2 separate regions of the Homo sapiens genome follow, and region 1 is linked to region 2. The links are contacts of gene promoters, found by promoter capture Hi-C in human tissues and cell types (Jung and others, 2019). All regions are on one chromosome and are shown on one strand. The core of a region is centred on a gene start or on the middle of the fragment in contact, and the rest is flanking DNA. Distances in the headings are between cores, read along the strand shown. Region 1 holds the start of TNNC1 (troponin C1, slow skeletal and cardiac type). Region 2 has its middle 15 kb from the start of ALAS1.

Region 1 (5,164 bases), core at 2,354-4,853, 270 kb before region 2:
GCCCCTCTCAGCTTCCTCCATGGCCCAAGCACTAGGGCTGGGAGGCACATGAGACAAGCATGTGGCTCCATCCATCAGTAAGGAATGAAAAAGGTGATTACCACAAGTCACCTCTTTAGTTTTTTACCTCCTGCCTCTAGGTAACTCAAAACCCAACCGGAGCTGCAGGCAAGGCCATTTCTTCCAAGGGAGGCAGAGCAGGGCCAGTTCTAGCCTGAGCATCTTCTCTGTTGTACTTCTTTCCAGGTGCCCTGACTACCTCCTGGAAGCAAGTCATTTTCCAACCCTTTCAACTGGTTCATGGCTGTGATTTCTGCTGCTGAGCCAGGAATCAAGGCACAAGCAGCTGATGTGGGGAGGGAGTGGTAGCAACTAAGCTCTATCAGGAGGCAATATGGCCTAGAGGTTAAGGAAGGCCTGGGTTAAAAACCTGGTTCTGCCATTTCCTGGCTGCAGCTTATGTGTCACTTATATAAGTAACTTGGAGCCTAAGTTCTCTCTGAGCCTTAGTTCCTCCATCTTAGAATCAAGGACCAAGTAAGGCAATGCATGTAAAATGCTTTGTACATGGGCCTGACCCATGGCAAGTGTTCAAAAGGTAGGTGTGTTAATAATGTCCAACTCGGCACACCCGGAGACAGAGGATGGTAGGGTCCAAACTAGATCACCACCTCCCCCGACATACATGCAGAGGAGGGGCGCAGTCCAGAATAGGGTGAGCTTTTTGAAGATGGCCCTCTGGCTGAATGTGCCCATAGCTGATGGCCAGTCAGCCATCAGCTTAGAGACCTCACCCGCCTCCTGCACCTAGTTTCCCCCTCCTCTCTGCAGCATGGAGCTGAAGCCTCCTCCAGCCCTGAGGAGCAGCCATTTCTCCAGGCTGGCCTGTTGCTTCAAGATCCACCCCTCTCCTCTTCCCATCCTGCCTGATTCCTTCCCCTTGCCTTCAGGAAAGGAGAAAAGAGCCAGAAGAATGGCCCTCAGAGCGGAAGGTTAGGATGAGGGCCAGGGAGGGGAGGTGCAGGCAGGCCCAAGGCCCCCACCCACTCCCTACCCTGCGGGAACAAAGGGGAGGAGGCAGGGAGGTGCTCTATGCCTAGTCCAGGGCCGGTTTTTGCCAGGCAGCCCACCAGGCTCACAGGCCTGGCATCCAACCCCGTCAAAGTCGGGAACTACCCGCTATTTGTCCTCTGTCTCCCCCATAGCTTAGAAGTGTGTGTGGGCAGCTTGTTGCCCCATCTCGCTCCCACAGCCCAAAGTCACGAAGATTCCTAAGGCTTATAGGGCCTGCGCTTTAGCACTGAGACCACCCCCATTTCTCCATAGATGGGCTCCACCCCTCCTCCGGTCTTGTCTCCGCCCGACCCCCAAGGCATCTGCTCCCCAGGTCTCTCCTGCACTTCTCAGAGAAAATCTCAACCACCACCTCAGGCTCCCCAGATCAGGGTCCTGACGCCTTCTCTTTCTTCAAGGCCTGCGAAGCCTGACCCTTTTCCCTGATTCCATCCATCAGAGACCCTCTCCCCATCGCCTTCCTCCTGGACCCCTGTAACGGTCTTCCAGGCCGGGGCCCCTCCAGTCCTAGAGGATCTAGAGGGGTTCCGCCTCATCTAGACACCCCCCTCCCCAAGCCCCCTTTATCCCCAGATGCCGCCCCCAACCCGAGCCTCCCTTTCTGATCGCGTACCCTTTTCCAAACCGCCTCCCCGGGCCCCGAGCAACCCTTCTCCCGGACCTGCGGGGCCCAGATCCCTTTCCTAGATCCCCCGTCCCAGCCCCCTCCTCGCAATCGCAGACCCTTCTACCCGCTCCTCGGGGCTGCAGATCCCGGACCCCTCCCCAAGCCCCCGAGTCGGACTCCCGGTTCCAGCCACCACCCCCGCTTCGGGTGCCCGCGCCCCCAACACACCGTATAAGTGTCCACAAGCTCCGAGCCCACGACGCGCGCTTCCTTGGCCGGCTCGGCTTCCCGCTCGGGCCCGAAGGTGCGCGCGGTCGCCATGTTCGGGTCTCCGCCGCCACCGCCGCCCGGCGCAGACTAGCAGCAGCAGGGGGCGGGGTCAACGTCCCACCGCCCCCCGGCCCCCGCCGCCCGTCGCCCCCGCCGCGCGCTGCGCCGCCATCTTGGCCCCGCCTTCTTCCTGCGCCCTCGCCCCGCCCCCGCGCGTGACTGACAGGGGCCACTCAGGGCGCGCGTGCGAGGTGCTCGCTTGCGTAATCTACCTGCGTGGCGCCGCCGGCGGTACCCTGCACAGCCTGCTAGAAACTGAGACCCCGGGTGGTGACAGCTCTGGGCATCGCCCCTGGGTCCTCGGGAAGAGGGGACAGAAGGTCCCGAGTCTCCCAGGCCACACGAAGCAAGTCACTGCTCTTCCTGGCCTCAGTTTACTCCTCCTGATAAAGGAGGCCATAATAGTGCCTCACCTGGCTGTTGGGCTCTTTCTCTTTAGGGCAAGGCAGGTTGGAGGGGAAAATAGGACCTGTGCTTACCGCCGGAGCAGGGCGAGAGTGATTCTGGGCCAGTTCTGAACCTCTCTGAGATTCGGAGATCTCTTGTCAGTGGGGCTTCTGGACAACTGAGTGGGTTGATTGATGCGCGGCCCAGCACGCAGTAGTGCTCGAGGCAGGGAGCGTGTTTATCAAGAGGGATAAACTTGATACGAACTCTGTACGAAGGAAGGTGTAGGTGGATGGAGGGGTGTGTGCTGCCACTGAGCACAAGAACCCCACGGGGTGGCCTGCCAAAGTTCAAAACGAGGGAGACAGGTTGATCTGGACCCAGGAACTACAGTGCTGAATCCTAAACCGGGGAAAGATGAGACCTAGAAGAGGGAGGTGGTAACCTAATTGGAGGGTGAGGAGGGAAAGAGCCTGCCACAGATGGGGCATCTATAGGGGTGCTGTTGAATAACTGAGAGCAGCTGACTTAAGCCCGAAGTGGGTACTTCTCCCTGGGCAGATGGGAGGTCTGGGACAGGCTCCTCTGGCAGAAGGGCTCCTGGCCACCCTGTCCTAAGGTGGGTCAGTCACTTCCTCCTTCACCAGTTCCACAGCATCTTACTATGAGCTTGGCATTCGAGGCTTCTCTTGGCAGGGCCCTGCACTCCTAGCCTCTCCTTGCACATTGCACCCCCATTCCAGAGAGGTTTAGTTAAAGGCGGGGGTTACCAAGTCAGTCAGATCTTGGGCAAGTCACCACTCCTCCAGAGCCTCAGTTTCCTTATCTGGAAAGTGGAGGTCATGGCAACCCGCCAACCTGGTTGGATGGGAGCCTGAGCTGTTGTGTTGCACCTTGCCTGGGGCCCACGACTTTGTAGCTCCTGTCCTGCACTGGGCTTATGTTTTCATTCATTCCAGAAACCTTTTCAGAGAGTCCCTTTGGGGAGTGTGGGGGACAGGAGGGAAAGAAACCTGGTCCTTGTAGCCGTTCGTCTGCTCCCTGCCCTGGGCAGAGGACGTGGGGACTCAGGCCAGCCTGAGATCACTGGGACCAGAGGAGGGGCTGGAGGATACTACACGCAGGGGTGGGCTGGGCTGGGCTGGGCTGGGCCAGGAATGCAGCGGGGCAGGGCTATTTAAGTCAAGGGCCGGCTGGCAACCCCAGCAAGCTGTCCTGTGAGCCGCCAGCATGGATGACATCTACAAGGCTGCGGTGAGGGACAGGGCTGGGTAGGGCTGGGGTGGGCAGGCCCACTGGGGGCTCACTCAGCTGAGAGTGCGGGGTTAGTAGCCCCAGGGAAGTGGTGGGGACCAAGGAGAAGGCCTACGTGCCTTCAACCCAGGCCCTCACAGGGACAGTGATTCTGGTGTTTGAGGATGCAGAAGGGGTAGGGGGTTCCGGGTCTGAAGGGTGGTGGAGGAGGTTGCAGCTTTCAGCATCGTGTCTCACTCTCTGTTTCCAAGTGTCTGTGGTCTGTGGCACTGTCGCTCAGCCACATGTCTCTGCATTTGTCTCTGGACGTTTTTGCCTTTCTCTTTTCATCTCTTCCTCCTGAGCTGTCTGAGTCCCCATTACTGTCTCCCTGTCCCCAACCCCCATTTCTGCCCCTCACATTCTGCTTCTCACATGCTCAAAATCTGCCACCCCACTCCAGCCCCTTGGCGGGCCGAAGATGCTTTGGAGGGTGGAGGGTGTGAGAGGAGGGGTCTGTAGAGCCTGAGTCCTGGGCTGGAGATGGGGCTTTGAAGTTTGAGGCAGGGAAGTTCTGGACATGAGGGAGAACCAAGGAAGAAGGAACAGAGAACTGGGGCCCCAGCTCCCATCATGCCTGGCAGGCTCAGGGCTCAGTGGCTTAGCTAGGGGTGAGAGCGAGGGAATGAGGGCTGGAGAGTGGTCACCCCAAGCCCCTGCAACCTCCTGGGTCACTGAGGGTCTTCAGATGCTATTCTATCCTGGGTGGTGGTGACCTCCCCCAACCCCAGAGCAAGGACATCCTGGCATGGCCAGCTGTCCCCAGGGGAACCCCTCCCTCAGCCTCCCTCACTCCTGGGCAGGGAAGTGCTATAGCCAGCTCTGGGGGCACGCCTGCTTATCCTGTGGGAGTCCATGGAGCCGGGGTTGGGACAGCCCTCCACCCAGTGCCCATACAAGGCCTGGCGGAGTTGGGGACTAATTTTGGCTTCTGAGGCGGCACTAGCAGGCCAGGGGGCCAGATAACGCTGCCCCACCCCCTGCATGCCAAAGTCCCCAGAACAATCACCAGGTTTAACTTTGTTCCTCGTTAAAAATAGCCCAGTGGCCACCCTGGTCAGGTTACCGTGGGTGGCTTGCCTGCCTCCACACTGGTTTTATTATCCCAACTTGAGGGACAGCTGTCCTTCGGGCCACCCAGCTTGAGTTTCATCAGGGGCCGAAAGGGCATTGAGTGGTCACTGACTATTGTTACTGAGGGTCACCTTGGTCCTGAAGGGGGTGCCCACCTGTCACCCTGGCCCTGAGCCCAGTCGCAGTGAGGCCAGCTGGGTCACGTCAGGGCTTTGGGGGCAGGGAGGGAGGACTGAGACCTCCACTCTGTGGCCTGGAAATAGCCTGCCTCCTCCAGCTCCAGCCTTCTCACCTGTGGAATGGGTTGGTTTCCTCAGCAGCAGCTATACCTGAGTCTGAGCCTTGAGATTCCCTTTCCTTTCTAGGTAGAGCAGCTGACAGAAGAGCAGAAAAATGGTG
Region 2 (5,112 bases), core at 668-3,167:
CCCTCCCGGGTGTCTATGTCATCCTCTCCAATGGCTCTCCCTAAGCTCACCCTGGGATAGGCCACCTCTGATCTCAGCCTGGTCTGTGGACGGTGTGGTCAGGAGTCAACTGAAGCCCCTTGAAGCTCAGCTGGGGTGGAGGCTGCAGTCAGACCCTCGTTCCCCCTCCTGGTCCCTCTCCCGCTCTCTTCCTTGACCACCACCTCAGAAGATGACCATAGCTGTGCAGCAGAAGGGCTCTCACTCTATATTTGTGTAACAACATCTAGAAAATAGTTTTCCACAGCCTGCCTGTGTCTTAGCAGACAGAAGACTGCTGGCCACTCTGAAGTGACATTTCAAGTTTGGAAGTTCTTAGGGCCTAGTGTCTGGCAGCGTGGTCTGCTGGTCACATTCCTACGTGCACACCCTGAAGGTCTCTCAAATACATGCAGAATCCCAGGCCCACAGCTGCCCAGGGTCACAAACACCCTTTCACACATGGCCACATGGCCAACCACTCTGGTCATAGGGATAGCAGCACCTTGTGACAGTTAGATACATGGTGTAGTCACAGCGTGCCTCGGGGGCTGTGACCTTGTCACAGAGGCACACATGTGCAGCCATGGTGTGCCATGATTGGGACGTCATCATACATAGGGTCACACACACGGGCTGAGCTGTGCAGGGCCGCAGGGTTGCTCTGCTTCACCCCTCACCTCCACCTCCCTACCGCAAGTGCAGCCTGGCTCCCTGGGATCGTGATCCCTTCCCCTGCGCTCATTCCTGATGAAGTCAGGACTATCAAGAGCCCCTGACTGGCCCTCCCTCTGCCTGCCTCCTCTGTGGCCATCCTGCTCAGGTCTGTCCCGATGGCTCTGTACACCCCTGAGAACTATTAAACTGACCAGAGCGTGGACCAGGGAGATCCCAAGGGCATGAGAGCCAAGCTGTGTGACCATAACAGTCATGTCTTGTTTCTGGACCTCAGATTCTCCACCTGTTTTTAAAAAAAATGTTATTGATGTATAATAGTTGTACATATTCTCCATCTGTTAATACAGGCATAGACCTGGTGGTTTCAAGGCTCTTCTGGCACCCGTGATGAGGAAAGCTGTGATTCTGTGGCCCCTCTGGCATTTCCTGGACCTTCGGGCTTCTGAGTCTATTTGAACTTCATGGCCAGGTGCCTCTCACTAATGAAAGGGCCTCCACTGAGATTTCCTTGGGAACAAAGGAGAGCTCAGTTGTTCTTGAGGCCTCAAAGGGGCCCCTGAGGCAGGCCTGATGCCCGGCTGTGTGCAAGGACCAGAGGAGTGGCTGCCCAGCCTGGAGGCAGGTGCTGGCTGGACTGACCTCCTGGGACCCACTTAAGCTTTCTACAAACAACACATCATCTGGGCTGAGTGGGGGGTTCTCGGGGCAAAAAAAAAAAAAAAAGTCTTCTACGGAAGCTGCCTTGTGACTTGGCCCTGAGCTCAGGCAGGGTGGGGACCCTGAGCACCAGAGAGGTCATTGTTCCGTGAAAGCCAAGGCGGCAACCCCTCCCTCTTCCCCTTCTTGTGCTTGGAACCTCCAGACCCCTGGACTCCCAGGGGAGCCCAGGGAGTCAGTGTATGAGGTGCTGAAGCCAAGTCCTTCCAGAGCTTGGGGGAAGGTCAGTTGGTTTATAAATCACCTGAATTTCATCAGGGTCACCATGGGGGAGCTTCATGCATTTTTCAAAGGGCAGTTGTTGGGTGGTCACTCTGTGTTAGGCGCAGTGTAGGAGCCTGGAGAAATAAACCAAAATGTACCTGAAGTAGCATTTTTCAGTGTGGTCTATGTTCATGAAGTGGTCTCTGGAAAAAATATTCCATAGTCAAGTAAGTTAAGAAAGGGTATTATATAATTCACTTGGCCTGAGCAAAGGTGACCTGGTTTCTTTTTCGTGGGATTTGGAGAAGCTTTAAAAGGCAGTGTGTTTAGGCTGGGCTTGGTGGCTCAAGCCTGTAATCCCAGCGCTTTGGGAGGCCGAGGTGGGTGGATCGCCTAAGGTCAGGAGTTCAAGACCAGCCTGGCCAACATGGTGAAACCCATCTCTACTAAAAATACAAAAATTAGCTGAGCATGTGATGGCGGGCGCCTGTAATCCCAGCTACTCAGGAGGCTGAGGCAGGAGAATCGCTTGAACCTGGGAGGCAGAGGTTGCAGTGAGCCAAGATGGCGCTACTGTACTCCAGCCTGGGTGACAGAGCAAGACTCAGTCTCAAAAAAGAGAGAAAAAACAAAAAAAAAGCTGTGTGTTGAGAGAACTTAGGGGGTGTGAGTGCAGGAGCCTCATTTCCCACATGCAGCTGACCACAGAACTCATTCTGCTCATAGCAGCTATCTGGTGGGGTCTGGTGGGGTTGGAGTTCTCCAGGAGCCCTGCAGCAAGGCTGCTGGAGGGGTATAAGCCATCCCTGGAGGGCTCCTGTGACGCCATCTCTGTGCCCTGCCCCTGGTGTCCTGATTTAGCAGGGCGCCTGAGAATCTGCATTTCTGCAAGTTCTCAGGTGCTGCTGTTGGACCACACTTGGAAAACCACTGATCTATCTCAGAGCAGCCAGAGTGATCTTTTAAAAGCTAAGCTGCGTGAAGTTCCTTCTCTGCTCAAAGCACCCCCAGGGCTCACTGTCACTCAAGGTAGAAGCCAAGTTCTTACAGGAGTCCACAAGGCCCACCGACCTCTTTGACATTCACTCACAACTCACTTTTCTGTCCCTTAAACCCACCCTGCAAATCCTCAAGAGCACCTCAGGCCTTTGCTCCCTTCTGCCCATAATGGTCCTGCCCCAGATGTTGGTGGGGCAACCTGTTCCCATCCCCCAATTCCTCCACCCCTACTCTTGTACCCCTGCCTGCCCTGGCAGGGCAGCCTGTTGGTCACATTCATAGATGCACGCCCTGAATATCTCTCAGATACACATAATCTCAGGCCCACAGGTGCCCAGAGTCACAAACACCTAAGCAGCTGGGCTCTCACACAGGAGGACACAGAGGGGGCTTTCTGGTCCCATATACATCTAGCACCTCGGGAAGGGGTTGAGAGGGAGCTGAGGTGTCCAGGCTGGGGCACAGGGGAGTGACTCTGTGGGCAGCTGTGTGCTCTGTCACTGGTTCCATGAACCTTATCAGCGCTGCCCTCATCCTAACCCCGGAGCACTCTGTGTTCTTGATGCATCTGCACAGAGGTCACGGCAGCACAGATGAACTTAGCTCACCCAGCTGCCCACAGTGACCCCGATAAGCTTGCAAGGCATCCTGTGGCAGAAACCAGAAGGTTCTGAGTTGGGCAGGAAATAGGGCCAAGCCTGTCTTCTCCACCCCAACCTCCATTGGCCCTGACCTGGCTTGGGGATGACCCTGGTGGGTAGCTGGGGGGGAAAGGTTTAGCTTAGGCCTGTCTGACTGCCAGATGCATGGGTGTTATGGAGAGGGGATGGGGGAATGTCAGACTTGGCTCTGACCTTCTCCTCTGTTGAGTGGGGAATGGCTGCCTATAATCTTCACTGGGGTCCCTGGGGCCTGTCTGATTCTATGTCCTGACCCCTCTGCCCTGTGGGTGGGTGTGCTGGTGGCATACAGAGTCTGCCACCCCATCGAGCCAAGGCTGTGGGTCTGAGTAGCCTTAGGTGCAGAGGCTGTCTGCGAATTTGCACATGATGTCAGTGGTGGCCTTGCTCAACATTCCCAAGGAATTTTCTGACTAGCAAAGCTTTGATTTTGGCAGCTCTTCTGCCCAGGAAGCTGACGTTATGCCCTGAGCTCAGCTCTGCTGAGCAGGTGAGTGCAGGCTGAGGCCCCTGAGTCCCCTGTCCTGGCCCTCCTGGGTGGATTCCATGGGTGGTCCTTTGCCTCCTGTGCGTGTGTGAGTATGTGGACACATGCAGGGAAAGTCTGCCAGCCTGAGCTCCCTCAGCCTCCCTTAGCCTGCCCTTCTTTTTAAAGCTACCATTTATTGAGAGTTTACCATGTTCTAGGCCTGTGGTTAAATCCTTACAGCAACCCTACGCCCTAGGGTTGTTGTAAAGATATATTCAAATCCTAACATCCAGTACCTGTGAATATGACCTTATTTGGAAATAGGTGCTTTGCAGCTGTTATTAAATTAAAAAGAGTTTTTCCATTTGTTCGTGTCCTCTCCTTTCCTTGAGCAGTGGTTTGTAGTTCTCCTTGAAGAGGTCCTTCACATCCCTTGTTAGCTGTATTCCTAGGTATTTTATTCTCTTTGTAGCAATTGTGAATGGGAGTTCACTCATGATTTGGCTCTCTGTCTATTTTTGGTGTATAGGAATGCTTGTGATTTTTGTACATTGATTTTGTATCCTGAGACTGCTGAAGTTGCTTAAGGAGATTTTGGGCTGAGACGGTGGGGTTTTCTTTTTTTTTTTGAGATGGAGTCTCACTCTGTCACCCAGGCTGGAGTGCAGTGGCGCAATCTCTGCTCACTGCAAGCTCCGCCCTCGGGTTCATGCCATTCTCCTGCTTCAGCCTCCCAAGTAGCTGGGACTATAGGCGCCCGCCACCATGCCCGGCTAATTTTTTTGTATTTTTAGTAGAGACGGGGTTTCACCGTGTTCGCCAGGATGGTCTCAATCTCCTGACCTTGTGATCTGCCCACCTCAGCCTCCCAAAGTGCTGGGATTACAGGCCTTAGCCACCATGCCCTTCGACAGTGGGGTTTTCTAAATATACAATCAGGTCATTTGCAAACAGAGACAATTTGACTTCCTGTCTTCCTATTTGAATACCCTTTATTTCTTTCTCTCACCTGATTGCCCTGGCCAGAACTTCCAATACTGTGTTGAATAGAGGTGGTGAGTGAGAGAGAGCATCTTTGTCTTGTGCTGGTTTTCAAAGGGAATGCTTCCAGCTTTTGCCCATTCAGTATGATATTGGCTGTGGGTTTGTCATAAATAGCTCTTATTATTTTGAGATACCATCAATACCTAGTTTATTGAGAGTTTTTAGCATGAAGGGGTGTTGAATTTTATTGAAGGCCTTTTCTGCATCTGTTGAGATAATCATGTGGTTTTTGTTGTTGGTTCTGTTTATGTGATGGATTACGTTTATTGATTTGCGTATGTTGAACCAGCCTTGCATCCCAGG

The links. Contacts are between HindIII fragments. The study calls those that stand out against the background at their distance.
Region 1: a contact is called between the fragment with the promoter of TNNC1 here and a fragment that was not itself captured in region 2, in 2 of the 25 tissues and cell types used here (small bowel and spleen).

The regions. Positions count from the first base shown.
Region 1 is chr3:52,452,480-52,457,643 of GRCh38, reverse strand. It overlaps TNNC1 (troponin C1, slow skeletal and cardiac type), which reads left to right and starts at 3,603. Exons shown (of 6, transcript NM_003280.3): 1 at 3,603-3,652; 2 at 5,131-5,161. The coding sequence starts at 3,629. NISCH (nischarin) reads right to left here and starts at 2,040. Exons shown (of 21, transcript NM_007184.4): 1 at 1,910-2,040. The coding sequence starts at 2,002. RefSeq lists enhancers at 386-1,061, 4,741-5,164 and a silencer at 1,886-2,115. The HindIII fragment of the contact is 8,260 bases long and covers 1-5,164 here.
Region 2 is chr3:52,180,390-52,185,501 of GRCh38, reverse strand. No RefSeq gene overlaps it. Among named protein-coding and RNA genes, the nearest start is that of ALAS1, 15 kb to the left of the region's middle. RefSeq lists an enhancer at 148-983. The HindIII fragment of the contact is 5,026 bases long and covers 1-4,430 here.